Regions from separate parts of the Homo sapiens genome. Here all the other regions are linked to region 2. The links are contacts of gene promoters, found by promoter capture Hi-C in blood cells and fetal thymus (Javierre and others, 2016). All regions are on one chromosome and are shown on one strand. Each heading gives the region's core, a stretch centred on a gene start or on the middle of the fragment in contact. The rest is flanking DNA. Distances are from core to core; before and after follow the strand shown. Region 1 overlaps EEF1AKMT2 (EEF1A lysine methyltransferase 2). Region 2 holds the start of NKX1-2 (NK1 homeobox 2). Region 3 overlaps ABRAXAS2 (abraxas 2, BRISC complex subunit). Region 4 has its middle 95 kb from the start of CHST15. Region 5 has its middle 86 kb from the start of CPXM2. Region 6 holds the start of ZRANB1 (zinc finger RANBP2-type containing 1).

What was found. The method cuts DNA at HindIII sites, captures the fragments that hold promoters and counts their contacts. A CHiCAGO score of 5 or more calls a contact.
Region 1: a fragment that was not itself captured here is called in contact with the fragment with the promoter of NKX1-2 in region 2 in 2 of 17 cell types (total B cells and naive B cells); the score reaches 6.9 in total B cells.
Region 3: a contact is called between a fragment that was not itself captured here and the fragment with the promoter of NKX1-2 in region 2, in 2 of 17 cell types (activated CD4 T cells and non-activated CD4 T cells). The highest score is 5.7, in activated CD4 T cells.
Region 4: a contact is called between a fragment that was not itself captured here and the fragment with the promoter of NKX1-2 in region 2, in 1 of 17 cell types (naive B cells). The highest score is 5.2, in naive B cells.
Region 5: a fragment that was not itself captured here is called in contact with the fragment with the promoter of NKX1-2 in region 2 in 3 of 17 cell types (neutrophils, monocytes and naive B cells); the score reaches 7.4 in neutrophils.
Region 6: a fragment that was not itself captured here is called in contact with the fragment with the promoter of NKX1-2 in region 2 in 1 of 17 cell types (activated CD4 T cells); the score reaches 5.4 in activated CD4 T cells.

Annotation. Positions count from the first base shown.
Region 1 is chr10:124,758,194-124,762,305 of GRCh38, reverse strand. It overlaps EEF1AKMT2 (EEF1A lysine methyltransferase 2), which reads left to right. Exons shown (of 7, transcript NM_212554.4): 6 at 1-6; 7 at 1,803-4,112. The coding sequence ends at 1,803. Among named protein-coding and RNA genes, the nearest start is that of FAM53B, 16 kb to the right of the region's middle. The HindIII fragment of the contact is 3,819 bases long and covers 1-3,410 here.
Region 2 is chr10:124,447,024-124,451,406 of GRCh38, reverse strand. It overlaps NKX1-2 (NK1 homeobox 2), which reads left to right and starts at 1,372. Exons shown (of 2, transcript NM_001146340.3): 1 at 1,372-1,677; 2 at 3,260-4,383. The coding sequence starts at 1,464. The coding sequence ends at 3,978. RefSeq lists enhancers at 1-503, 3,820-4,383. The HindIII fragment of the contact is 2,053 bases long and covers 218-2,270 here.
Region 3 is chr10:124,822,435-124,826,542 of GRCh38, reverse strand. All of the region lies in intron 4 of ABRAXAS2 (abraxas 2, BRISC complex subunit), which reads right to left. Among named protein-coding and RNA genes, the nearest start is that of ABRAXAS2, 23 kb to the right of the region's middle. The HindIII fragment of the contact is 2,968 bases long and covers 345-3,312 here.
Region 4 is chr10:123,996,147-124,000,585 of GRCh38, reverse strand. No RefSeq gene overlaps it. Among named protein-coding and RNA genes, the nearest start is that of CHST15, 95 kb to the left of the region's middle. The HindIII fragment of the contact is 1,996 bases long and covers 1,203-3,198 here.
Region 5 is chr10:123,975,766-123,980,151 of GRCh38, reverse strand. No RefSeq gene overlaps it. Among named protein-coding and RNA genes, the nearest start is that of CPXM2, 86 kb to the right of the region's middle. The HindIII fragment of the contact is 3,808 bases long and covers 1-3,621 here.
Region 6 is chr10:124,941,956-124,946,508 of GRCh38, reverse strand. ZRANB1 (zinc finger RANBP2-type containing 1) reads right to left here and starts at 4,386. Exons shown (of 9, transcript NM_017580.3): 1 at 3,202-4,386. The coding sequence starts at 4,015. The HindIII fragment of the contact is 446 bases long and covers 2,193-2,638 here.

The DNA.
Region 1 (4,112 bases), core at 252-2,751, 310 kb before region 2:
ATTTTAGTAAGTGACCTTCCAGCTTTATTTATTTTTTAAAAGCAAAATAATATAACATTTTATTTCATAGTTTAGGAAAACACTACATTACCTTATTTGGATCTTTACAAAATCACAGTGAATTTGATGGCGTGGGGTGGCGCATTGGCGTTAGTAGCTTAAGGCTGGGATTAGAGGCCTGAGCCATTGCACCCGGCCAGTATACATCACTTAAAACATTTTTTTCTGTTTATAAGAGTTATTTGAGCTCAAAGCATGAAAATTTAGAAAAATACAGAACCCCACCCCTGCCTCAAGAAAAAAATATTCCAAAACTAATAGGTCCATCAATGAGGGAAAACCTTGATTGGCGTTTTATTTTACTTTAATTTTAAAATTTATTTTGAGACAGAGTCTGGCTCTGTTGCCCAGGCTGGAGTGCAGTGGGATAATCTCGGCTTACCACAGCCTCCATCATCCAGGCATCTCCCACTTCAGCCTCCCAAGTAGCTGGGACTACAGGCGCACAGGCACAGGCCACCACAACGGCTTATTTTTGTATTTTTTTAGAGATGGGGTTTCGCCATGTTGCCCCGGCTGGTCTTGAATACCTAGCCTTAAGTGATAGAAAGTGCATAGAAATCAGGATCATGGTAGAGGTAACTTGACAGCCTGTCTCATTTAGTAAGTGCTGAAGCTGAGACTTCACCTAGGATTTTAGATTCCAAGTTAATTTTTTGAACCTAGGATTTGAACCTAGGATTTTAGACGCCAAGTTAATTTTTTTTAAACCATACTGTGATGCTTTGAAAGTTACTAGTTCCTTGTCTTCCAGGCCCTTTATTAGTTCGTTTAGTTTGAGTCTTCATCTTTGTTATAAATTACTGTTTTTAATTCTGCTGAAATACACATAACATACCATTTTATAACCATTTTTAAGTGTATACTTATGTGGTATTAAGTACATTTACATTTTTTTGTGCAATTGTCATCACTACCCTTCTCCAGAACTTTTTCATCTTCTACAAATTCATTTATATTTCCAAGTTATTTTGCCTTTCTGTATTAAGTGCTTTAATATGTGTGGTGTGAATTAATTAGATTACTACATATGAAGCACTCAAAATAATGCCTGGCGCTTAGCAAGAACTCAACACAGGGCCAGGCGATGTTGCTCACGCCTGTAATCCTAGCACTTTGGGAGGCTGAGGTGGGTGGATCACTTGAGATCAGGCGTTCCAGACCAGCCTGGCCAACATGGCGAAACCCTGTCTCTACTAAAATATGAAAAATTAGCCGGGTGTGGTGGTGCATAACTGTAATTCTAGCTACTTGGGAGGCTGAAGTGAGAATCGCTTGAACTCTGGAGGCAGAGGTTGCAGTGAGCTGAGCTTGTGCCACTGCACTCCAGCCTCGGTGATGGAGTGAGACTCCGTCTCAAAAAGCAAACAAACAAACAAAAAAACTCGACACATGCTAGCTGCTTCCTACAAACCAGGTGATAGAGGCTAACAGAGATACAGCTTTGCAGAGATGACAAACAGGAAGTGGAGGAAATGGGAGGTGGATGGAAAGCCTGTTTTTTCCAAATTGTTTTTGGTCTTGTCTTTTCCTTGTTAAATTCAAAGTGATTTTGGAGGAGCATACATATGCTGTACATACATAGTAGAATTGAAAAATCATGAAGTGAAATTCAGCACAATTTAGAGTTTGGAATCATAGTTTTACAAAGGGTTCAATGGTACAGTGTTAATGCATGCATATAAATACATGTAAGTATGAGACTCAATTCTTAATAAAAGTATTTAAATTTTGTCTGACAGGATTTGAACTTCTCGAAGAGCTACCAACACCCAAGTTCAGCTTTGGAGGCAGATCTGGAAACAGTGTAGCAGCATTGGTTTTCCAAAAAATGTGAGACTTTTTCTTGGACGAATTCAGGTAGCTACACAGAATCTACACAGCAAAGTTAACCTGACACAGAAAATCCTTGTGCAAATAAATGCTTAGTAAGTACACAGGATGCACATGTTGAATAGAGTATACTGGATTGGTGAAAGAAAATAATAATAATGAGCATCTAAGTGGTTGGGTTTTAGAGATCAATCAAGAATAATTTTAATTTTCTTTTGTATTTGAAATGTAAATAGTTTTCTTTTCGATTAAAAAAATTTCCTATAACTGCTAAACAGTTAAAAACTTTAAAGTAGTAAATGAGTTTATAGAAAGCATGTATTCTTGATTTTTGTGCCTTGGTAAAGTTGATAACTATTTATGAATATTTGACCAAATTATTCCAGCATCAGAATAATAAGCAAAATAACTTTGTTAGTGTTTTGTTAGACTGTTTATGAAATATAACAAGAAATACTATTTTGTGTTGGATGGCGGTTATTTTTAAACTTAATTAATACCTGTGAAAAGGCCTCTTACCTTTATGTATATAATTAAACAAAATCAGAGAAATGTATCAGTTGCTCAAGTTATCAAGCCTGCATTTTGCAGCTATGGTCTTCTACACACTGTAAGGGTAGTAGAAGGAAAGAGAACTAAGGAATGTTATTATTTGCTAGCGCTATGTTAAGTTGTCTTATTAAGTAATTGAGTCCTTTCAATGTCTTCTTGAGGTATGTATTGCTTGTTCTTGTTTCTACGTATAAGGAAAATGAAGCTGAGAGAAGTGAAGTCACTTTTATGAGGTTCAACAGTACAGGATGGAGCCAGGATTTTTATCTGGGTCTGTCTGACTTTAAAACACATACTCTTCTCCTAGCATATTCTGCCTCACAGGTGCTTAGTCTTTGCCTTTGTAGCATTTACAGTACAGCTGGAGACCCATGATGATTACATATAAAGTTCAGTTAGAAAAGATGGGTAGTTACTTTATTAGTGTTCATCTGTGGAGTATCAGAATAGCAGTCAGCCAACTCTGTCTCATATCATCCTTCATTACTTTTCCCCATCTCCCTACTCAAAGACTTGCCTCTATTAAGAATTTTGTCATTCTTCTGTGAAAGGGTAGTGTAAGTTATATAAGCCCTCAGCGATACATGCACAAAGATGTTCTAGTTAGGGGCTAATTTGGCAAGAGAAACAGTTTATTAATGTTTTTGAAAAGATAAGTCATATTCATACTTAATACCATTTTGTATTTGTGGTAATATTTTAATATTGGAGCTAAATACAAATTTTTGCATAATTTTTTGATGATTTTCAGCTTTGTGGGCCTATTGGGTTACATAAGTGACTTTTTGTTTGGCAAATGTTACTCCTGTATTGAGTAAGTCTAACATTACGTCCCTTTTCTTTTTGGGGAGGGGTAGCCAGAGGAGTGAGTTTTTCATTTAGATCAACATTGATCAACCATTAAGACAAGATAGTTGAAGACATGTATGTGGACTGTCAACAAAAATAACATTTTTTGAAAAGCTTTTATTTTCAACATGTAAAAAGTGAGAAATTACTTCAAAATATATGCAATTTAAATTTTTTAGAAGATTGTGTTGATTTTACCAAGACAGGAGATCTTAAACTGTAGAAACTTTTATAGTTTTTGAGATCGGGTCTTTGTTTTTTTTCACATTAATATTCTTTGATTTCAAATATAACATAGATAAGTACTCTTAGAATTTTGAGTTAAGTATATGCTATTTTAATGTGCTAATCCTACAAACTAGGCTTTCTGTGTGACTAGACTGAGATGTTGAGTTTGATTCACAAAAAGCTTAGAATGGTTCTTTGTTGAAAAGCTTTTCGAGTCACTATTTGGGGCATGTTAGTGCCATTTGCAAAGGTGAAGGTTTTCTTTTTTTTTTTTTTTTTAACCATAGAGCTTTTGATAAGGTTAGGAAAAGGAAGTTGTCATCTCTTCTTATTACTCTAATCCTGCTGGAAGCTAGCTTCTTAGGGACTAAAACCAGAACAAATGGAAGGTCCAAAAATGCTAATAAGAAATTAGTATTTTCACATAATACCAAACTGTAAAAACCAGGCCAGCAAGTGTCACCAGGTTCCTGAAACAAACCATAAATACATTATTTAACTTAGTATTGTTAAATTGTATAAATATGTGGGTAACTGTGACAGAAATTATGCACTTATAAAAAGCAGTAAGTTACATAGTGAATGCTGTT
Region 2 (4,383 bases), core at 123-2,622:
CTCCTTACCTGCTCAGACAATATTAATTGCCAAGTCATTGTTTGGAAACCCTATGGGGCGGAGAAGAAAGGAACGGCAGAGTCAGAGGTGGTTCTGGGCCAAACACTAGGAGAAGCCTCAGAATTTGCCTGAAACAAATGCTTAGTGCTCACAGACTGCTGTGTGCTTTCCAAGAGACAAAAGAAGAAATTCAGGATTGGTGTGGCCAGTGGAAGCTTCTCCGACCACTGGTGATCACTTTCCCAGGGGACTTGGTGGGGCAGATGAGGGCCATTTCAACTGTCTCTCTTCTCGGACCTTAAATTCAAACCAGACAGGCATTTCTGAATCTTCTGCTTCTGGGGCTGAGAGGGAATGGGGGTCAGAGATGCAACCTAATTCTCAGATCCAATTTCTGTTGCAAATGATCGAATTTGTGACTCTGGAGAAGGCCTGACGTTTGTCCATTGAGGGCTGTGCTCCGGGTCACAGCAAACCAGGGCAGACACCCTCAGCCATCTCACTTGGCTCTGTGCCTGAAGCCACCAAGGTTTCCAAAGCGGCTGGAATCCCGGTGGGGGCTCACCACCTCTCCAAACCTCTTGCTGGCCTCTGGCTTGGCTTTGGAGTGGAAGCAAAAGACTGAGAGTCCGGGATTTTCTCCCTCCGTTTCTGAGACAGCAGGATGTACTAAAAAAGCACTGACTGGTCCAGTAGAAGACCGAGGTCCAAACCCAGACTCTGTCACCAACTCACAGTGACCCTGGGGAAATCTTTTCTTACCTTTGAACCTCGATTTCCTCATCTTTAAAACGGGGACAGTGGTCTGTGCCACGTGACGCCCATCTCACAGGGATGCTCAAATAATCAAAAGAGATCGTGCAAGCCTCAGGGCTTTGTGAACGCTAAACTGTGAGAACGTGAGGGATTTTACCTCCGAGGTAACCGGGTCTGAAGCTATTACAGTAATTCACTGGCGGGGAAGGAGATGCGCTGAGCATTGCCTGGGAGTAAGCAGTCCTGGCCTCAGTTGCATCCCCAAGTCTAAGGCGGGTGCACCGGAGAAAGGGAACAAACTCAAGTCACAGAGGTGTGTGTGTCGGGGTGAGGGATCCCCGGGATGGAAGCCTCCCTCGCGCCCTCGGAGAGTCCCAGAGGGTTGGGCGGAGGCGCGCGGAGACGACAACACTGTCCCCGCGGTCGCGCGCACCGGGCGCGCGGAGGCTTCCCCGAGCCCAGGCAAGCGGCCGCGGCACAGCGCCTGATAGTCCCGAGGCTGGCCCGGGCTGCGCCGGTGCCAATCGGCGCGCAGCCCCCCGCGGCGCTCTCCCCGCCCCGCCTCCCCGCCCCCCTCCCCAGCTTCACTTGGCAGCGCGGACCCGGCTCCTGGCTGGAAAGCTACCGCCAAGCCACAGCCGAAGGCAAGCCCGAGCGGCGCCATCCCCAACCCCGCGCCGCCGACCGCCGGCCCGTGGGCGACGGGCATGCTGGCATGGCAGGACGGCGGGGCCAAGGCGGCTCCCTCCCACCACAAGATTTCTTTCTCTGTCCTGGACATCCTGGACCCACAGAAATTCACCCGCGCAGCGCTCCCTGCCGTGCGCCCGGCTCCCCGGGAAGCCAGGAAAAGTTTGGCGGAGGTCGAAGCGGGGAAAGATGCCAGCTCCAGGGACCCTGTCCGACAGCTGGAGACCCCTGGTAAGATGCAAGGCGGCCCCGGCCCCAGGAGGCCTCAGCCCCAACAATGCGGAGTGTATGGGGGAACAGCCGGGCCCGGTGAGTGGCCCTTAACAGCGTCTTCCTCAGAGAGAAGGCGCACGGGACCGGGTGCGAAGTGTAGCCCCCGCCTCGGACTTGGATAGAGGCAGAGAGGAGGCTCCCCGCATTACAGGGCAGGGATTTGCCGCATCCCTGCTCACCCGCCAAGCTCACCCGCACCACAGTTCTGATGCTCGCGGTGGAAACTTACCTGGCGCCTGTCTTGCCAGGCTTACTCATTTATCGGGCATTTAATGCGCTTGCCACGTGCTAGGACCTGGGCTAAGGGCTGGGATAAAGGTGATGAAAACTTCGGAACCTGAGAGATGGACAGCATCATTAACATCACCTCCATTTTATGGATGGGGGAGCTGACGCTAAGGCTTGCGCCGGGGGTCTTCGTGAGTAGCGAGGTCAGGTGCCACCCGGAGACGCCTGCGGGGCTGGGCTGCCCCAGGCGCTCAAGCTCCCCAGACTCAACTGTTAACTGGGACTGGGCTGGGGGCGGGGCTCGGATGGAGTGTTGGGAAGCTTTCGGTACTTTCTTCTCGAAACCCTTTCTGAATTACTCCCAACGCTGGCGGACACCTGATGAAGGGGTTAGGAAAGTTTGTGGCTGGAAGGAAGGACGGAAGACAGCAGGAGTCCTGCTGGGATCAGACAGGGAAAGGCGGCTCCCTGGAGGGTCAGAGGCTCAGGTCATCGGGGGAGGCTGGATGCCGCGCAGCCCCCTGCTCCCCTCCCCAAGTTTGGCGGTGATTGCCTGGGGCCCGGGGCGCCTCTGGCGGCCGCACTTGGGCCCAGGCAGGCGGCCTGGTAATTGTTCGGATCTTCTCTCCGAGGGGCCGCCCTCCCTTCCCCCACCCTCGTGATCGATATTCTATTACTGGCGCCTGCATATCTCCTGCCCGCAGCTTGCAGGTACCGACTTCAAACCCCCTTTCCCTGTCTGATCCTAATATTGTTCGATTAAAACTTACCTTTAATAGATGACATCTATCGATCCGGCCCCGCACAAATCTGAAACTCTATTAACACGGCGGGAGAGAGAAGATGGGAAAGGGAATTTCACTTTAAAGCGGGGGCGGGGGTGGGGTGGGGCAGAGAGCTTAATAACTTCTTTTTTAATTGCTGGGAGTCCTAGATCAAAATAGGCTTCTAGGGTCTGGGGAAGGCACAGCCCTAAAAGCGTTTGACATCTAGATGTCTTAATACAATGATCCTACCCCCCAGTATGGTTACCCAATAATGTCACTATTTTTTCTTAATGCGGGGTGTCATTCATTCATTTGGCGTACATTTCTTGGACGCCTACTTGATGGCAGATTTGTAAAGGGCAAGAGGACACCATTCCCCTAAACCCGCTGGCGAGGATGTGTAGTCCGGCCTAAGGGGAGCGCGATGTGGGGACAGGAGCAGCACCCAGAGTTGGGTTGGGGGGACAGCTGCTTGCTCTAGGGAGGACGAGGACGAGGTTTGGGGACCTGGAGAGGCTTCTGTTCACCGACCCCTTCTCCCCTAGATGCTGCGGGCCCAGGCGCCGGCCAGGCGTCCCCCCTGGAGGGTTCCGAGGCGGAAGAGGAGGAGGATGCGGAGGATCCGAGGAGGCCGCGGCTGCGGGAGCGGGCTGCGCGCTTGCTGCCGGGCCTAGCGCGCTCACCTGACGCCCCGGCCGGGGCATTGGCGTCTGGGGAGCCCTGCGAGGACGGCGGGGGCGGCCCTGTGAGGTCCCCCCCGGGATCCCCCGGCTCCCCGCGTCCCAGGCGCCGGCGCCTGGAGCCCAACTGCGCCAAGCCGCGGCGCGCGCGCACCGCCTTCACCTACGAGCAGCTGGTGGCCTTGGAGAACAAGTTCCGGGCCACGCGCTACCTGTCAGTGTGCGAGCGCCTGAACCTCGCGCTGTCTCTCAGCCTCACCGAGACGCAGGTCAAAATCTGGTTCCAGAATCGCAGGACCAAGTGGAAGAAGCAGAACCCGGGTGCCGACGGCGCGGCGCAGGTGGGGGGTGGCGCGCCCCAGCCAGGGGCGGCGGGGGGCGGCGGCGGCGGCGGCTCGGGGGGCAGTCCTGGCCCTCCCGGCACCGGCGCTCTGCACTTCCAGACTTTCCCCTCCTACTCCGCGGCCAATGTCCTCTTCCCGTCCGCCGCCTCCTTCCCGCTGACGGCTGCCGCCCCCGGGAGCCCTTTCGCGCCGTTCCTTGGGCCTTCCTACCTGACCCCCTTCTACGCCCCGCGTCTATGAATCCGGAGCCCCCTGGCCCCTCTTTCGCGGGATTCACGAGGGATTGGCATCGTCGTGTGCCCTCGGCTCCTCCACCGGGGGTGCAGGTGCGCGGGTGTCAGCGCACCCCTGCCCGCCGCGCGCACCCGCGATCCTCGCGGGCCACCAAGGGGTCAGGGATCTGCCGTCCTTCAAAGTGTCCGGGGACGGAGGCTGACCTCAAGCCTTGCCGTTTCTGGACCTTGCTGTTCACTTTGGGTCAGGTTTAATTCAGTTCAGGGGCTAGTTTTTGAGGGTCTGGGTGTTCGGCGCGGGGCTAACCAAGATGCCAGGAGGGAAATACAGGGAGCAGAGACGCCCTGGCTGCCAGCTGCTGGCGGCTAGGATGGAACCTTTAAAGGTGCTGGCTCATCAGAGGGTGAGAAA
Region 3 (4,108 bases), core at 579-3,078, 370 kb before region 2:
TGTATCCATACAAACACACATGCACAAATGTTCATAGTAGCTTTATGTGCAAAAGCCCCACCCTGGAACAACCCAAGCGTCCATGAGCAGGAGCATGGATAAACAGACTGTGCTTCAGGCATATGCTGGAATCCTACTTAGTGATAAAAAGGAACATGAATGAGTCCTAAAATAACTATCCTGAGTGAAAGAAGCTAGACACCTCCTCACTAAAAGAAGTATAGGTTATAGGATTCTATTTGTACAAAATTCTAGAAAATGAAAACTAATCTAGTGACATAAAGAAGATCAGTGGTTAACAGGAATGAGGGGAGAAGGCAGGACTGGAAAGGCACGAGGAAGCTTTTGTAGGTGAAGGAGATGCTCGTTATCTTAATATGGTGATGGTTTCACAAGTTTACACATACATCAAACTTCTAAGAGCATACATTTGAGATATGTGTTATATGTCAATTTTACCTCAACAAATCTATTTTAAAAGTTTAGCTTTTTCAGCTCTAACTATAGCATAACTAAACTGGCTAATGAAACTGTTATGCACTCTGGAAGAATACTTCTCATAATGTGATTTGTTGGTCATCAGGAAGACAGATGACTTCAGAGATATCTGAAAGACTGCTAAAGTGCAGATTCCTGGACCCCATCCCTAAAGTGCAGATTCCTGGACCCCACCCAAATCTGCAGAATCAGAACCTCTCAAGATAGAGCCAGGAATCTGAATTTAAGTAAGTTTCTGAATTTTTCTTTTGCATACTGAAATTTAAAAACATCTGTTTTCAAAACATTTAATTCTTTATTAGAAGATCAATCTTCATACAGCTTCCTTCTTTGAAACCAACTCTGAGTTAAAATCTTGTTTTAAGAAGCAAAGGTAGTTTAAATCTAATAGTGTCATATTAAAATTAAAATTAATAGTAAATTGAGATTGTTTTGACATTTTCATGTAGAAAGTAAGCCAACTTTTGCTGAGGCTAGCATTGTCACAAATATTTTCACTAATTACTACACCACTCTAAGTGAATAATGTTTTCTCCATTGAGTTCATATCATATGCAAAGAACTACAGAGAACAAAGAAATAAGCAATAGTTCCTGACTTAAGGAGTACTACTGAACATAAAACATATCTTCCCATAGATTAAAGCAATTAATTCTGATATCCCTTAAATAAAAAGAAAACCCAAGCCTTTCTCTCAGGGTATAATTTTTTTTTTTTTTTTTTTTTTGAGACAGAGTCTTGCTTTGTCACTCAGGCTAGAGTGCAGTGGCATGATCTCGGCTCACAGCAACCTCCACCTCCTGGGTTCAAGCGATTCCCCTGCTTCAGCCTCCCGAGCAGCTGGTATTACAGGCATGTGCCACCGCGCCTGGCTAATTTATTTTTAGTAGAGATGAGGTTTCACCATGTTGGCTAGGTGGGTCTTGAACTCCTGACCTCAAGTGATCCACCCGCCTCAGCCTCCTAAAGTGCTGGGATTACAGGCATTGAGCCACTGTGCCTGGCCTCAGTATATAATCTGATAGAAGAGATGTTTTGTCCGAAGTTACAGAGCTCATGAGTGACAGCCAAGATGTGGAATCAAGATGCCTGCCTGTTTCCACTGGGCAACACTAACTTTCACATTCTACACTAGACATGATGGTGGCCATAAAAAAGGTAAAAGTAGTTTTCCTTTCAAGAAAACTTGGATACAATTAGATAGAGCTATTGATGCAGGTGAACATAGCACATTTCATTCTAAGATTCAATACTCTGTACCCAACTCCTACTTGGAATGTTGGAATTACCTACTCAGCAGACCTCAGGCATGCCCTGCACTTCCCCTGCCTTCCTGCAAAGACCTGAACAGTGCTCAGCACACTGGCTGTTTTCATGAAATACTCATTGACTAGCAGAATCTTGCAAGGTGGCTATTGGATGACTAATAGTGCTTTTCAGTTATGCCAATTCGAACTATTTTATTTCATTTTTTTTCCTAGCTGCCTTTGTTTTGTTTTTTTTTTTTTTTGGTTTTTGAGATGGAGTCTTGCTCTGTGGCCCAGGCTGGAGAGCAGTGGCGCGATCTTGGCTCAAGCAACCTCCACCTCCTAGGTTCAAGCAATTCTCATGCCTCAGCCTCCTAAGTAGCTGGGATTACAGGAGTGTATTGCCACAACCAGCTGCATTTTTAGTAAAGATGGGATTTTACCATGTTGGCCAGGCTGGTCTCGAACTGCTGACCTCCAGTGATCTGCCAGCCTCGGCCTCCCAAAGTGCTGGCATTACAGGCGTGAGCCACAGTGCCTGGCATATAACAGCTTATTGATTTGATAGATGCCAACAGTTCTAAATAGATTCTCCTGGCTGGGTGTGGTGACTCACTACTGTAATCCAAGCACTTTGGGAGGCCAAGGCAGGAGGATCACTTGAGCCCAGGAGTTTGAGCCCGGCCTGAGCCAGATAGCAAGACCCCATCTCTACAAAAAATTTAAAAAGCACACGCCTGTGGTCCTAGCTACCCAGGAGGCTGAGGCAGGGGGATCACTTGAGCCCAGGAGGGCCAGGCTACAGTGAGCTGTGATCATGCCATTGTACCAGGGTGGCTAACAGAGCAAGACTCTGTCTCAAAAAACAAAACAAAACAAAACAAAACAGATTCTCCTGTCATTCTCATCAATGAAGGATGAGATGCCAAATTAATGTGTATTGGTGATATCTTTGATTCTACCTTTTAGAGCTAACGAACAAACTAGTTGCAAAGCTACTGAGAAACTAAGTCACTGATGTTGAAAAGCACATTTTGCATAGCTATATTTGGGACATGATGAAGAATTATGGATATCTTTCCCTAAAACCTTGTCTCTGCTTATGTTTCTCGGCCAATTTTTCACACAGACTATTCTATCCACAGACCACAGACTATTCTCTATGCTAGGCATTTGCTTACATTTTCATCCCAATATGGGCACGTTTATTGTCTTTAGCTTGTGTTCTTTTGGCCTTATGATGATACAAGGATGGCTGTTTCAGTTACTGTTATCAATTTCAGAGCTTCCGGAAAGCACGAATCCTCCTTACTTGCTTTGTTTGGCCTTAGCCTAAAACCTGAGGCTTGTGCAAACATTGTAAGCACGTATGGATTCTGCCAGAACAGTAATTCAGCCTGTGACCAAACTGTACCTACTGGCAGATTTTCTTATCAAAAACATTAGCCTCTATCTTAAGCCTAACATTTTACATGTACCTTGTGGGTCATATAACCACCCTTTTGAGGTAATGATAAAATTTTGTACTTATCCTAGGGGAAAAAATCCAAACAAGAATTATAAAGCTTTTTTTTGAAATCTAAGTGTTATATATCATCTCTGTCTTTGTGCTGGAAATTCAGATTTTTGAAAAAAATCCTTACAGAGTTCATACTTTATATAAGGTACCAAAGGAAATATATAGCTCCCACTCTCAACAAATATCAAGGAAATGAAACATATTTTCCAAGTAAAATGAAACAACAAACTCATATCACTAATTGCAAAGGAGAACACGAACATTTGTTTTAGCACAAAATTCTATAAAATCAAAACTATAGACCAACTTTTAACTGTTTTGAGACTCTTGGCCGCAGAAAAAGCAGTCAACTCTAGATAGCAACCAACGAGTGGCCTTCTGTGTCTCAAACAGCAAACCTCCTTAAAAATGCCAAAATTAATTTACAAATGTGTCCCTACCTACTAGTGAAAAGACTACATAATAGAGTCTTTTTTTTTTTTTTTTTGAGTTGGAGTCTTGCTCTGTCGCCCAGGCTGGAGCGCAATGATGCAATCTCAGCTCACTGCAACCTCCACCTCCCGGGTTCAAACCATTCTCCTGCCTCAGGCTTCCGAGTAGCTGGGATTACAGGCATCCGCCATCATGCCCAGCTAATTTTTGTATTTTTGTAGAGACAGGGTTTTGCCATGTCAGCCAGGCAGGTCTTGAACTCCTGACCTCAGGTGATCCATCTGCCTCGGCCTCCCAAAGTGCTGGGATTACAGGCATGAGCCACCGAGCCCGGCTGTAGAATCTTTGTTTTCAATTTATTTTCAATTATAAAATACATAGTCATTAAAAGAAAAAAAAACCTTATCAAATA
Region 4 (4,439 bases), core at 951-3,450, 450 kb after region 2:
TTGCCTAGGATGGTCTTGAACTCCTGGGCTCAAGCAATCCACCCACCTCAGTTCCTCAAAGTGCTGGGATTATAGGCATGAGCCACTGAGCCCGGCTAAAGACAATCTTCTGAGCTGTTGGTCTCACTTTACCCGAATAACAGTGAAACCTATGCTTCAACACCCCCCACCCCCGCACCACTCCCGCATGGTGGTGAGAGCCGGGGCCAAGGCCCTCCTGGCACCTCCACTGTCACTTTTCCCCTGCAGTCCTTCAAACCATGTCACTCTCTTCCTTGAAACCCTCCCCAACCCCCCAACACACCTAGGATAAAAGGCCAAGACCTGCTCATGGCCCTCGAGGCCCTCCCTGGGTTCTACCCTGCCCTGCTGACCTCTGAGACCTCAGCTGCCCGCACTCACCTCAGCCCTGGCTATGCTGACCTCACCGCCATGCTCAGCACACCAAGCCCTTCCCTGTACTGGCCTGTGACCCTGGGGTGCCCTGCCTGGCACACCCTTCCCTGACCCTGGCCAGGCTGGCACCTTCGCCTCACTACGGTCCCTTCGCTGGCCCTGGCCAGACCAGCACCTTTGCCTCACTACGGTCCCTTCCCTGACCCTGGCCAGGCCGGCACCTTCGCCTCACTACGGTCCCTTCCCTGACCCTGGCCAGGCCAGTGCCTTCGCCTCACTACGGTCCCTTCCCTGACCCTGGCCAGGCTGGCACCTTCGCCTCACTACGGTCCCTTCCCTGACCCTGGCCAGGCTGGCACCTTCGCCTCACTACGGTCCCTTCCCTGACCCTGGCCAGGCCGGCACCTTCGCCTCACTACGGTCCCTTCCCTGACCCTGGCCAGGCCAGTGCCTTCGCCTCACTACGGTCCCTTCCCTGACCACTTACACAAAATAATACCTCTCCTGCATGGCCAGCCTCCCTGCTTGATTTGCTCACAGCTGTCACCTGAGACTGGACCATCTGTGTGTCTGCTGCTGCTTCAGCAGCCCTCTGCCCATCAGGGACCTCCGCTCCTTGAGGTGGGAACTCTGTTCATGGCTGCAGCCTCAGAGCCTGAATCAGTGACTGCACATAATACTCACTCAACAAACTTAGATGGGGCAAAGGCATGTGTGATGATGCTGTAGAGCAGGCAATCCCCCACCCCTCGGGCATGGGCCAGTAGCAGTCCTGGGCTACACAGCGGGAGGTGAGAAGCAAAGCTTCATCTCTATTTACAGCTGCTCCCCATCGCTCACATTACCACCTGAGCTCCACCTCCTAGTGGTAACGTTGGATTCTCATAGCAGCTCCAACCCTATTGTGAACTGTGCATGTGAGGGATCTAGGTGGCACATTCCTTACGAGAATCTAAGATCTGTTGCTGTCTCCCATCACCCCCAGATGGGACCACCTAGTTGCAGGAAAACAAATTCAGGGCTCCCACTGATTCTACATGATGGTGAGTTGTAGAATTATTTCATTACGTATTTCAGTATAGTAATAATAGAAATGAAGTGCACAATACATGTAATGAGCTTGAATCATCCCAAACCATCCCCCCCACCAAACTGTGGAAAAACTGTCTTCCATGTAACTGGTCCCTGGTGCCAAAAAGTTGGGGCCTGCCGCTCTGGAGTGTGAAGCAGGGAAAGAGGACCTCACCGTAAGGGCCAGGCTCACTTTCCTAAGGAAGGAACAGGGAGAGCCTAGAAGAATGCAGGCCTTGTGCAAATGTCAGAACCTCCAGCAGAGGAGAGGTCTGCAGGGTGCATGGGGGCTGTGACCCAGATGGCATCAGGAAAGAGGTGGCGTTAAGCTGAGCCCTAAAGACTGGCAGGATCTAGAAAGGTGGGCAGGCATGCCGAGAGGAGGGGCTGGGGTGAGCAGGGGCAGGGAGCAGGGAAGGCCAAAAGAGCAGGGAAGGTCTCAGTGCCTCCGGAAAGGAGTATACGAACATTCTGGGCTTTGGAGTCAGGGAGACCTGGACTACAATCCTGGCTCTGCCATTGTCCTCTGTGTGACCTTAGGCAGAGGGTTTGATGCTACTGAGCCTCTGTTTTCTTATCTGCAGAATGGGTATGCACTCAGACTCAGGCCCTTATGGCGATAAGGGTTCACGCATGTAATACCCTCCACATGGCATCTGGACCCTGGAGGTGGGGGCAGGTCACCTCAGCAATGGTCCTCAGGCACGATTGTTGTAGCAGTAGGAGGTGAAGCCACCCAGGTAAGTGGGCACAAGGTCAAAGAGGGTTTGGGTCTCAGGGTAAATGCCTTTGGTTGAACTAGTGGTGTATTGAGCTTCCCACACTGACATTTTCTGAGCAGAGGAATTATTGGTTAGCGCAGGGATTTAGGTCATTAATTTGGAGCAGGTAGAAGTGCCTGGAAATGGAAGGACTAAGGCTGAGGCTTCTATGGTCCAAGTGAGTGATCACAGGGGCTGGGAGTAGGAAGCACGGCTGAAGGGCCATCTCAAAGGCACTGTACCAATGGGATGGTGACATCACTACTGACGGCACCCACAGAGCTGGGGTATATGTATGCTTATGTGTAACTTCCCATTTTACAGAAAAGGAAGCTGGGGCTCAGGGAGGTTAGGTGACTGCTCCAAGGTCACACACTTAGTACTGGACCCAGTGTTGGAACCCACCAAATCTGACCCATCTTGTGCTTGTCACTAACTGAAGGATGTGGCAGGCAATGGAGGCAAGGTCAAAGGCAAAGTCAAGCCCCAAATGGTCAAAGACAAGGATTAGACTTGGAGCTGGTGTCCAGCCTGAGGGTGGAGGGGTGAGGGACATTTACCGTAGCAGGGGAAGGCTGGGTCGAGTCAACGTTCTTGCAACATCCGTAATTGCAGCGTTAGCTGGGCAAGTTAGATGGGTGGGGAAGTCCTACTTAACCACATAGACATTTCTTAAACATTTTATTTTTACTTCAAATATGTGAAGTACAGCACATCTATTTGTCTGCCTTTTGGTATGGAGCCAAAACCTTTTCTCTGAGCATGAGCCCACTGATTGGAGCTCTGGGTCATCTCTGTGGCAGAAACCACAGAGCAGTGAATCAGCACTGATTTCTGGTTTCAGTGTTTCTAAAGGGACATGAGAACTGGAAGGCGCTTGCAAGGCAATCTCGAGGCAGAGTCCTTCATTATTTGTGTGATTATTTTCCCCAAATCATTACCCTCATCTGTGCTGGGACTTTCCAAAGCTTCCAGCCTAGCATTCAGGGAGCAGCTCCCTTTCTGCATTAATATTTCATCAGCTTCCCTCAGTGGCTCTCCGAGAGTGGCCCAGGGACCACTTGCGACCCTTTCAGGGAATCCAAAGTCCAAATTCTTTTCACGGTCAAACTGAGATGTTGTTTGCCCTTGATGCTCTCATTTTCTCCAGAAGGTACAAATAAAGATTTTCAGAGCCCCCAGCCCCCAGCCCTGGCCTCTGACAGCCGACGGAATGCGTGCTTGTGTGTCTCTGTGCTTTGAAAGTCTCTCATCTTTAATTTTGAAGATAGTCAATATCAATCAATGCAAGCCACTGAAACAAAAGCTGTTTGGGATCTTCAATGATTTTTAAGAGTATAAAGGAATCTTTAAACAGTTTGAGGCTGGGCATGGTGGCTCACACCTTTAATCCCAGCATTTTAGGAGGCCGAGGCAGGAGGATCCCTTGACCCCAGGAGTTTGAGACCAGCCTGGGCAAGATGGTGAGACCCTGTCTCTACAAAGTAGGTAAGTAAGTAAGTAAGTAAATAAATAAATAAATAAATAAAAATTAGCAGAATGTGGTGGCACACACCTGTGGTCCCAGCTACTTGGGAGGCCGAGGTGGGAGGATCACTTAAGCACCAAAATTTGAAGCAGCAGTGAGCTGTGATCATGCCACTGCACTCCAGCCTGGGGGACAGAGCAAGACCCCACCTCTGAAAACAAACAAACAAACCCAACTAGTTTGAAAACTTGCTAGCTTATATGATATTTAATTAACCTGTGCCTTCATAATATCAAGAACAGCTGGCATGAAAAAGGCTCGGGGGCAAACACAATTGACTTGTGGTAAATACAAGATCAGCTGGAGGGTGTTTTGCCAAACGGCTGAAAGCCAGGAGAGCTGAGCACGCCCAGGATGTCTAGGGGACATGGACACACCTGTCACCTGCAATGGCCAGATGAGAGGCCATCCATGGTAAAGGGGATGAAAACGGTCATAACAGGGCCAGCTATGATTGAACACAGGGTGAGTGCCACGCCCTGTGCTGGGGCGTCTCCTCGTGTCTCATTAGATCCTCACTGCAACCCCAGGAGGAGGTTTTATCTTTATTCTGGTTCCGCCATTATAAAGGTGGGAGAATTGGGGCTCAGTCCCCTCAGCTAGTAAGGAGAAGAGCTGGTCCTTGATCTCAGGTCTGCTGGTCCCCAGAGCTCGAGTCCCAGCTTCAGCTTCTCAACTCTGAG
Region 5 (4,386 bases), core at 468-2,967, 470 kb after region 2:
TGTTTCCCTGGGCTCCTGGTGTGTTGGCTCATGGATTACCCGCTGGCTGTAGTTTCTATTTTATTTCTGTTCAAGAAGTGTCTTTTTTCCTTCCTTCAAGTTTTCCTATGAATTAAAAGGACATTGACATATATTTGGAGGCAGAGATTGCTAGCATAGCAGAAAAGGAGATTTCCTAATTAACTTTTTGTTATTAATTTCTAGATTAATTTCACAGTGGTCAGAGGGTTAATTTCACAGTTGTCAAGAGTGATTCAAATCCCTTGAAATCTGTTGAGAATTGTTTTATGACCCAGCATATGACTGATTTTATTAAATGTTATGTGTGCACTTAAAAAGAATGCATATTCTGTCATTGTAGGATACAGTGTTAATTAGGTCAGGCTAATTGTGCTATTACTGATTTTCTGTTTGCATTTCTATCATATATTGAGAGGAGTGTGTTTGTGCCTCTGAATATTATTGTGAATTTGTCTCTTTTTCTTTTTTAGTTCTGTCTGTTTTTGCTTTATGAGTGGATTGATCCTTTTATCATTGCAAAGCAACTGCTTTATGTCTAGCAATGCTTCTTACCTTCCAGTCTACTTTTCTGATATTAGAATAATGATACCAGCTTTCTTTTGTTTAGTGTTTATCTGGCATAGCTTTTTTCAACTTTGACTTTCATCCTTTTTTGCTTTTGAGGTGGGTCTCCTGTAACCAGTATATACTTGAGTTAATAAAATCAGATCTGACTATTTTGGTCTTACTTGAAGTATTTAGTCAATTTATATTTGACATAATTATTAATATATTAGAATTTATAGTTACCATTTTACTTTTTGTGTTGTACCCATTTTATGTTGCTTTTCCATGTCTTGGGTTTTTTTTTTACTTTCTTTTGGATGAATAGTTTTATTATTCTATTTTCCCTATATAAACTTGGTACTTAAGTATTTTAGTAACTACTGTAAATGTTGCAACATGTATCCTTGATTTAATATTGTCTAATATAATTTAGGACTTTTATTTCTTTTACACAATGTTGAGACCTTAGAATACTTTATTGCTCCCATTCTTTTCCTTTACTCTTGTCAATATATATTTTAAATCCCACTAGACATCATTTTTGATGTTTCGTATGGTTAATATTTATTTATATTTACATATATACTCTTTCTGTAGCTTTCAATTTCTTCATGCATTTCAGTTTTTAAATCTGGGTTCTTTTCCTTTGTCTGAAGAATTTCTATTGGCATTTATTTTACACTGGGTTTTTCTGTTTTGGTGTCTTTAAATAATATTTTCCCTTCATTTTTGAAAGATGTTTTGGAAATTGCCTTTGCAAAAATTAGAACAGTGAGAAAATTATGATAGTGAAAGATCTAATCAACTCCATCTTGCTTTTAACCTCCAAACTGCCCTTGGCCATTCCTGAGCATGGGCCAGACTAACTTTGGGAGACTAAAACATAATAGCTCTTCCCAAAACTAAGCCACCTTTGCAAAACTAATGAAAGGCAACCAGGTTAGGAAGATTAGAGGGACCTGAATTCTGCTAAGATGCAGGCATAGTTAAATGATTACCAGCCATTATTCTGGAAGTCACAAGATTTGCAACTTCTTCAATGACTCCTGTAAAGAGCATCACTATTGTAGACCCTCAGATTGCCCTTTTAAGATGTCTTTTCAGACTTTTGCATTTCTGATGACTAGATGACTCCAACTGGATCAGCAACTCCTCTCTGGCTCCCACCCAGAAGTGAACTCAGCACATGAGGACCACTTACCACACCACTATGATTGCATCACTAACTCATCAGCAGCACTCATTCCCTATCCCCCTGCTCACCAAACTATCTTTACAAAACCCTAGCCTCCAATTTTTGGAGAGGCTAATTTGAATAGTAGTAAAACTACAGTCCGTGTTTAGCTGGCTCTACATATATTGAACTCTTTCTCTATTGCAATTCCCCATCTTGATACATTGGCTGTATCTGTGTGGGCAGTGGGCAAGATTAACCTATTGAGCTGTTACACTTTCATTGAATATAGAATTTCAGGTTAGTTTTACTACCTTCCAGCTCTTTAAACATATCATTTCTGAAAAGCCAATCTTCAGTCTTACTGTTGCTCCATTGAAGGTAATCTGTCGTTCCTCTCCTGCTGTGTTCACAATTTCCTTTTTTATCTTTGTTTTTCAGCTATACTAAAGTAAAATTTATTTTATATATACTTTGCTTAGAGTATGTAAAGATTTTTAATTTGTGGACTAATGTCTTTCCTCAGTTTTGGAAAATTGTCAGGTATTAGTTCTTCAAATATTTCCTTATCCCATTATCTCTTTCCTCTCTATCTGAGGCTGCAATTACACTAATGTTAGACCTTTACACTGCTGTCTATGTCCTTTATGTTCTCTTTTGTATTTTCTATCTTCTTTTCTTCTGTGTTTCAATCTTAATTTTTTAGATTGCTGTATTTCCTAATTCACTAATCTTTTTTGCTGTTTCTAATCTATTCATAATAGATTATTAATAATAACAGATTACATTAATAATAAATCCACCTACTGAATTCTTTAGTTTTTGCAATTTTTAGTTCTTAAAATTTTCATTTAGTTCCTTTCATAGTTTTCAATTGTCTGATGAAATTCTATTTTCATCCATCTATCTTTTTCTATATTGTCTTTACCATATTAATAACAGTTCACTTAAGCCCTTATCAGCTAAGTCCAATATCTGAATCACCTGTGGGTTGATTTCCCATATCTAAATATTCCCCCTGATATTTGACCATTTAGTCTTGTCTCTTGGTATGCCTACATTTTTTATTGAATGCTGGACATTGTTCATCCTTTCCTCTGATAGGTAGATATACTGTATTAGCCTGTTCTTGCGCTGCTAATAAAGACATACCCAAGACTGGGTAATTTATAAAGGAAAGAGGTTTAATTGACTCACAATTCCACATGGCTGGGGAGGCCTCACGATCGTGGCAGAAGGCAAATGAGGAGAAAAGTCACATCTTACATGGAGGCAGTCAAAAAAAGAGCTTGTGCAGGAGTCCCATTTATAAAACCATCAGATCTCATGAGACTTATTCACTATCACAAGAACAGCATGGGAAAGACCCATCCCCATGATTCAGTTACCTCCCATCAGGTCCCTCCCACGATATGTGGGAATTGTGGGAGCTACAATTCAAGAGGAGATTTGAGTGGAGACACAGCCAAACCATATCATATACTATGGGTTAGTCAGCTTAATTCAACCAGGGACTGAGTTAACTCAGGGCTCAGTAGCAGTATTGAATCTCTACCTACTCCTGGATCATGTTTATTCTTAGAGCATGGTTTTAGGGTTTTCCATTGAGTGGCTGGGGTGTTTATCATGGCCCTTGCCCCATAAGTTCTAAATTCTAGTCCTAGTGTCCTCAGCACAGTAAGACTATTGAAAACTTCACTTAGCTTTTCAGAGGCTCTGTATTTGCCTACCTAGTTTCCATTTTGTGTAGCTCCAGAAATTTCCCAATATCTTCTGTTAAAAACTGACTGAGAGTTTGGCTCAGTTATTTGCTCCATCTTGTGGGATTCTGGATCCCCCACCCCTAAGAATTTAATTTTCCCTTTCCAGACCTGTAAGCTTCCCACATCTTTGCTAGTTTTCTTGCCCTTTCTAGTAGCCCAGGCCTGGCCTTCTGCCCAGCATTCCCAAGTTCATGAGGGAAGAGCAGCTTCAGAATATGGCTCATCTTTCCATGGGTTTTCCCTTTCAGGAATCTTGGCCCCTTAGGCCTGGTTGCCTCCACAGCTCTCCAATGCCTTCAGACAAATGTTTTTTGGTATGCCATCAGCGTTCTTGTTCTCTTTAAGAAGATTGGTCCTCTGCAAGCTCTCTAAGAAACAGAAGCCCCTTTCTATTGTGTTTGAATCATTATATATTTTGGGGTCTCTTTGTTACCGCAAGCCACCCTACCCTAAATAATACATATTCTATCAGCATTTTAATATATTTTTAGGAGAAAGTGGCCTGCAATAACTATGCTTCTAGGATGTTGAACCAAAGGTCTTACATTGATTAAAATAAAAAATATGAATGAAGTAACTCTAAAGCCAGATATTGTCATTAACCACAAGATTTAGGAACACAGTCAAATACTGTGTGAAGAAGATTTTTTTAAAAATGTTGAGTCTAATTATAAAGATAATATAAAATAATATCTATTATAATAGTCATAATTATCTTTATATAAACATAAAGATAAAAAATAAAGATAATTATAAAAATTTTTGAGTTAATATAAAAATAAAAAAAATTCAAAGTTCAGTACTCAGAGGCAACTGCTATTTACATATTGTCATATTTTTCCAGTCTTATTTCTATATATTTTGCTTTAGTTGAGATCATAT
Region 6 (4,553 bases), core at 1,166-3,665, 490 kb before region 2:
ATTTTATAAATAAAACAACGTCAAATCCAATACTGGTCCTATTGGTAGAAGTTTTTGTTCCACTTTTCTTTTCTTTTTTTTTTTTTTTTTGAGACAGGGTTTTGCTCTTGTTGCCCAGGCTGCAGTGCAATGGTGCAGTCTTGGCTCACTGCAACCTCCACCTCCCAGGTTCAAGCGATTCTCCTGCCTCAGCCTCCCAGGTAGCTGGGACTACAGGCATGTGCCACCATGCCCGGCTAATTTTGTATTTTTAGTAGAGACGGGGTTTCTTCATGTTGGTCAGGCTGGTCTCGAACTCCCGACCTCAGGTGACCCGCCCAACTCAATCTCCCAAAGTGCTGGGATTAACAGACCTGAGCCACTGTGCCTGGCCTTGTTCCACTTTTAAATTGAACTCAGTGATTAAAATGCAAAGAGATGGGCCGGACCCAGTGGCTTACCCCTGTAATCCTGGCACTCTGGGAGGCTGAGGTGGGTGGATCACTTGAGCACAGGAATAAGATGCCAGCCTGGGTAACAAGGTAAAACCCCGTCTCTCCAAAAAAAATACAAAAATTTGCCAGGCGTGGTGGTATGCGCCTGTAGTCCCAGCTACCCAGGAGGCTGAGGTGGGCGGATGGCTTGAGCTTAGGAAGTCAAGGCTGCAGTGAGCCATGATTGCAGCACTGCACTCCAGCCTCGCGACCCTGTCTCAAAAAAATAAATAAAATGCAAAGAGGTACAAGGATGGCTAGTCGTCTAGTCAAAAGTAGTAAGGATATGTAGAAAAAGGCAGGACCAAGAAGAAATAATGTCATAAAGACAAACATGTTGATTCATCTAACTTGTGTGTTTCAAGGAAAGAAAATATTTCAAATCAGGTGTTCTTATCCTGAGATCCACTGACTTGAAGCAACCGGGGGTTGAAATGAAGCCCTGATTCCTAAAGGATTCTATGACCTTTAGTGAGGTTTAGTGACCTTCACTGTGAGGTTAAGAACCGTCACAATGAAGTCTAGTTCATTTTCATCTATAAACCTACATGTACTATAACACCACCTTGTAGTCCAAGTATTCATAGTACACTACTCCCTGAAAAAAAAAAAAAAAAAAAAAAAAATGATTTTAAGACTGTTCCAAAGGCATACAAGCAATTAAAAGACAATCACACCCAACATAAAAGCTCACAGATATGTAAAGATTCCATTTATATGAATATCCAGAATAGGTAAATCCACAGACACCAAAAGCAGACTGGCAGTTATCAAGGGTTAGCGGGTAGGGGTAGGGGGCAGTAACTGCTTAATGGGTACATAGTTTCCTTTTGGGATGATGAAAATGTTCTGGAACAACACAGAGGTAGTGGTTACACAATGTGAATGCACTAAATGCCAAATGAGTTGTTCACTTGCAAAACGGTGAATTTTTATGTTAAATCAATTTGATCTCTAAGGAAACTAATAACAAAACCCTTTTGTATCTCCTGTTTAAATTTTTTTAACTGACAATCATACTGTATGTTGCCCCTCAATTTGGAGCAGAAAAATCAGAGGAATAAAATGGGACAACACAGACAGAAGATAGCCCGGTATGTTTTCATCCCCTCATCCTCAGGATGGGAGGAAACTAGAACTAAGACTTGCTAAGTGCCTACTAAGTCTGGAGGTCAGAAGGATTCATCTGCTGGGATATTCTTTTTTGCCAGAACAAAGCTAAAATTGAAAACTCAGGATTTCAGCTGGGCACAGCAAATTATGCCTATAATCCCAACACTTTAGGAGGCTGAGGTGGGAGAATCGCTTGAGCCCAGGAGTTCAAGACCATCCTGGGCAACATAGGTAGACCCCCATCTTTACAAATAATAATTTAAAACAATAGCAGGGCATAGTGGTACATGCTAATGGGGAGTCCCAGCTACTGGGGAGGCTGAGATGGCAGGTCACTTGAACCCAGGAGGTTGAGGCTGCAGTGAGCCATGATTGCATCACTGCCCTCTAGCCTGGGTGACAGAGTGAGATCCCATCTTGGGGCGGGGGGGGGGGGGGAATGATATATATAATTTAATTTTAAAACTCACGATTTCTTGGAAATCAATTCCTAGGACTCACAGGTTCATACACCTAAACTTTCCATATTCTTGGGCTGTACCCAGAGGGATAAATAAAAGAAATTGGTACTGAGGGAAAACATACAGCTAAGGTATAGTTAAAGCTTAGCTATTGTTCCACACAAAGTTTAAACTTAGTAATCATTCAAAATTTCCCTCATAAGACCAAATGTCAAAGCAAGCAGCCCATCCAAATAATTTAATAAAAATCAAACATCTAATCTACTCAAAAAAAAAATACTGAAGACTCAAGTCACTGCTTTTGTGAATTACATCACAATTAACTCACAAGGTCAAGAACTGAAGAAAAACTCTGCTCTCCTATGTCTCTGTCCTTTAACAGCATTTCCTGAGGAAAATGTCACAATACATATGAACCATAACTTGAAGTATGGAATCAGCTGGCTACATGTAATCAGTTCCATAAAGTTTGCAAACATTTACTACATGACATTCATGTTAAATTAACACCAGTATTTTCAAGGTCAATATGTTTGTTCAACTTCTTGGAGTCACACATTTTTGTGGTATTTTTAACATCTGACTAAAGCTTCTATCATCACAAGATGCTCACACTGTTTACAAATACTTGGAAACAGCAGCTGGTGTTCCTCAGTTACATCTTGTTACAATAAACAGAGTAGCAGTTTTAAAGTCCAGGTATATATTTTACTGCTGATGTGTAAAAACTTTGCTTTAACTTAAACGTTTCCACTGCCCCCAGTAATGGAGAGACATGAACACAATTAATTGTGGGCAATTTAGTACAAAGTTACGACAAGATCACAAATACACAAATTTTTATGTATGCATACTTGAAAGTACAGCTATCGTGCTGAATGAATCAAATGCTAGTGACTTTGCGCATATATATATACACACACACACACACACTCACATTTTTGCATGTGCGTGGAGACACAGTCTCACTATGTTACCCAAGCTGGAGTGCAAGTGCTATTCACAGACCGATCATGGCATACTACAGCCTCAAACTCCTGGTTTCAAGCAAGTGGCTAAGACCACAAACGTGTGTCAGCGCACCCAGCTCTTTTCATATCATTTTTACTACCTTTTCCCATCCCACGCAAAAAATGCAGAATACAGAAACTTACCCACACAAGCATTGAGGAAGAGCCAATCAGTCTTTTTCATCCTGTTTTTAATTTGCTTTAGTTTTTTAAAGTCTACTTCAAGTTCCTCCTTGCTTCCCACAGCACCAGCCAATTCAATCCTCTGAAAATCCATTTTCACTTCAGAGTCCCGCTTCGTAGCAGGAGGTGATCTCCTTTGGCTATTACCACTACTGCAACTTCCCCTCCATCGAGCTCTGTCTTGCTCATTTATTATTGAAGAAGCCTCTTCAGTCTCTGCCAATTCTATTGCTTCAATGTTATTAGGTCTGGGATGATCACAAACAACACATCTTTTAGCCTTGGCCCAGTTTTCATATGTGCAAACAGAGCAAGTCCAGTGCTGTGTCCTAGTGTTCAGTTTATTTCTATCATTGTATTCCTCACAAGGATCAACAGAAAAAGCAACTGGTCTTGAGCCAGATCCTGAGGACTGAGGAGATTCTGTAGGACTCCTGGTCCTACGTTGGGATAAGCACTGGGTACATCTGATTGCTCTTGGCCAGTTCAAATATGTACACATGTGGCATGACCACTTATTTGCATTTTCCATGCTATACGAAGATTTCACCCTTGGTCTTGCACTAGAGTCTGGACATATCAAAGGACTACTTCCTCCTTCGGTGCTGGAAGGATCCCAATCTCTACCAACATCACTTGAACCACTTTTAAATGGATCTTCTGTAATAATTGTTCCACTAGGTCTTTGGGCACGACACATAGTACACTTGATTGCAGATGGCCAGTTTTCATACGTACAATATTCACAAGCCCACTTAATTCCACGTTCTGACATTGTGCACTTCTTGAAGTGAGCTGTGTCAGGCAGGAAGCTATAAATAATTAGGACATGGTTATTAAAATAACTACATTCCACCTCCAAAAATACGCTGCCCAAAAAGCAAGTCCTTCAACCTACAAAATATAAATTTCTCAAAAGATGCATGCAACATTTCGACATTGAATTATCCTAATTTTCTTTTTTAATTTCCATAGAAACACTGGAGATAAATTCTCAAAGAAAAAATCTTAGACCCTGGGATTTAATAAAACTGAACTTTGGAATGCAAAAGAGATAGGCAGGAGATATAACGAGGTTTGATCTAAGAAGGATGAGATTAACGGGAAGCCACTAATAGAAATGTTTAATTTCAGGGAGGCCATCACATCAATTTAGAAAAGTAACCAATAGTTTAAAGAGACAAAGGTAGAGGAAACAACACAAACTAAAAAATAGCTTAAACACATAACCATTCTCAAATTATGAACACAGATTATGATTCATGAATTCAGAAGATCAAGCAACGTCTATTTTATCATTCTCGCTAAGGGAG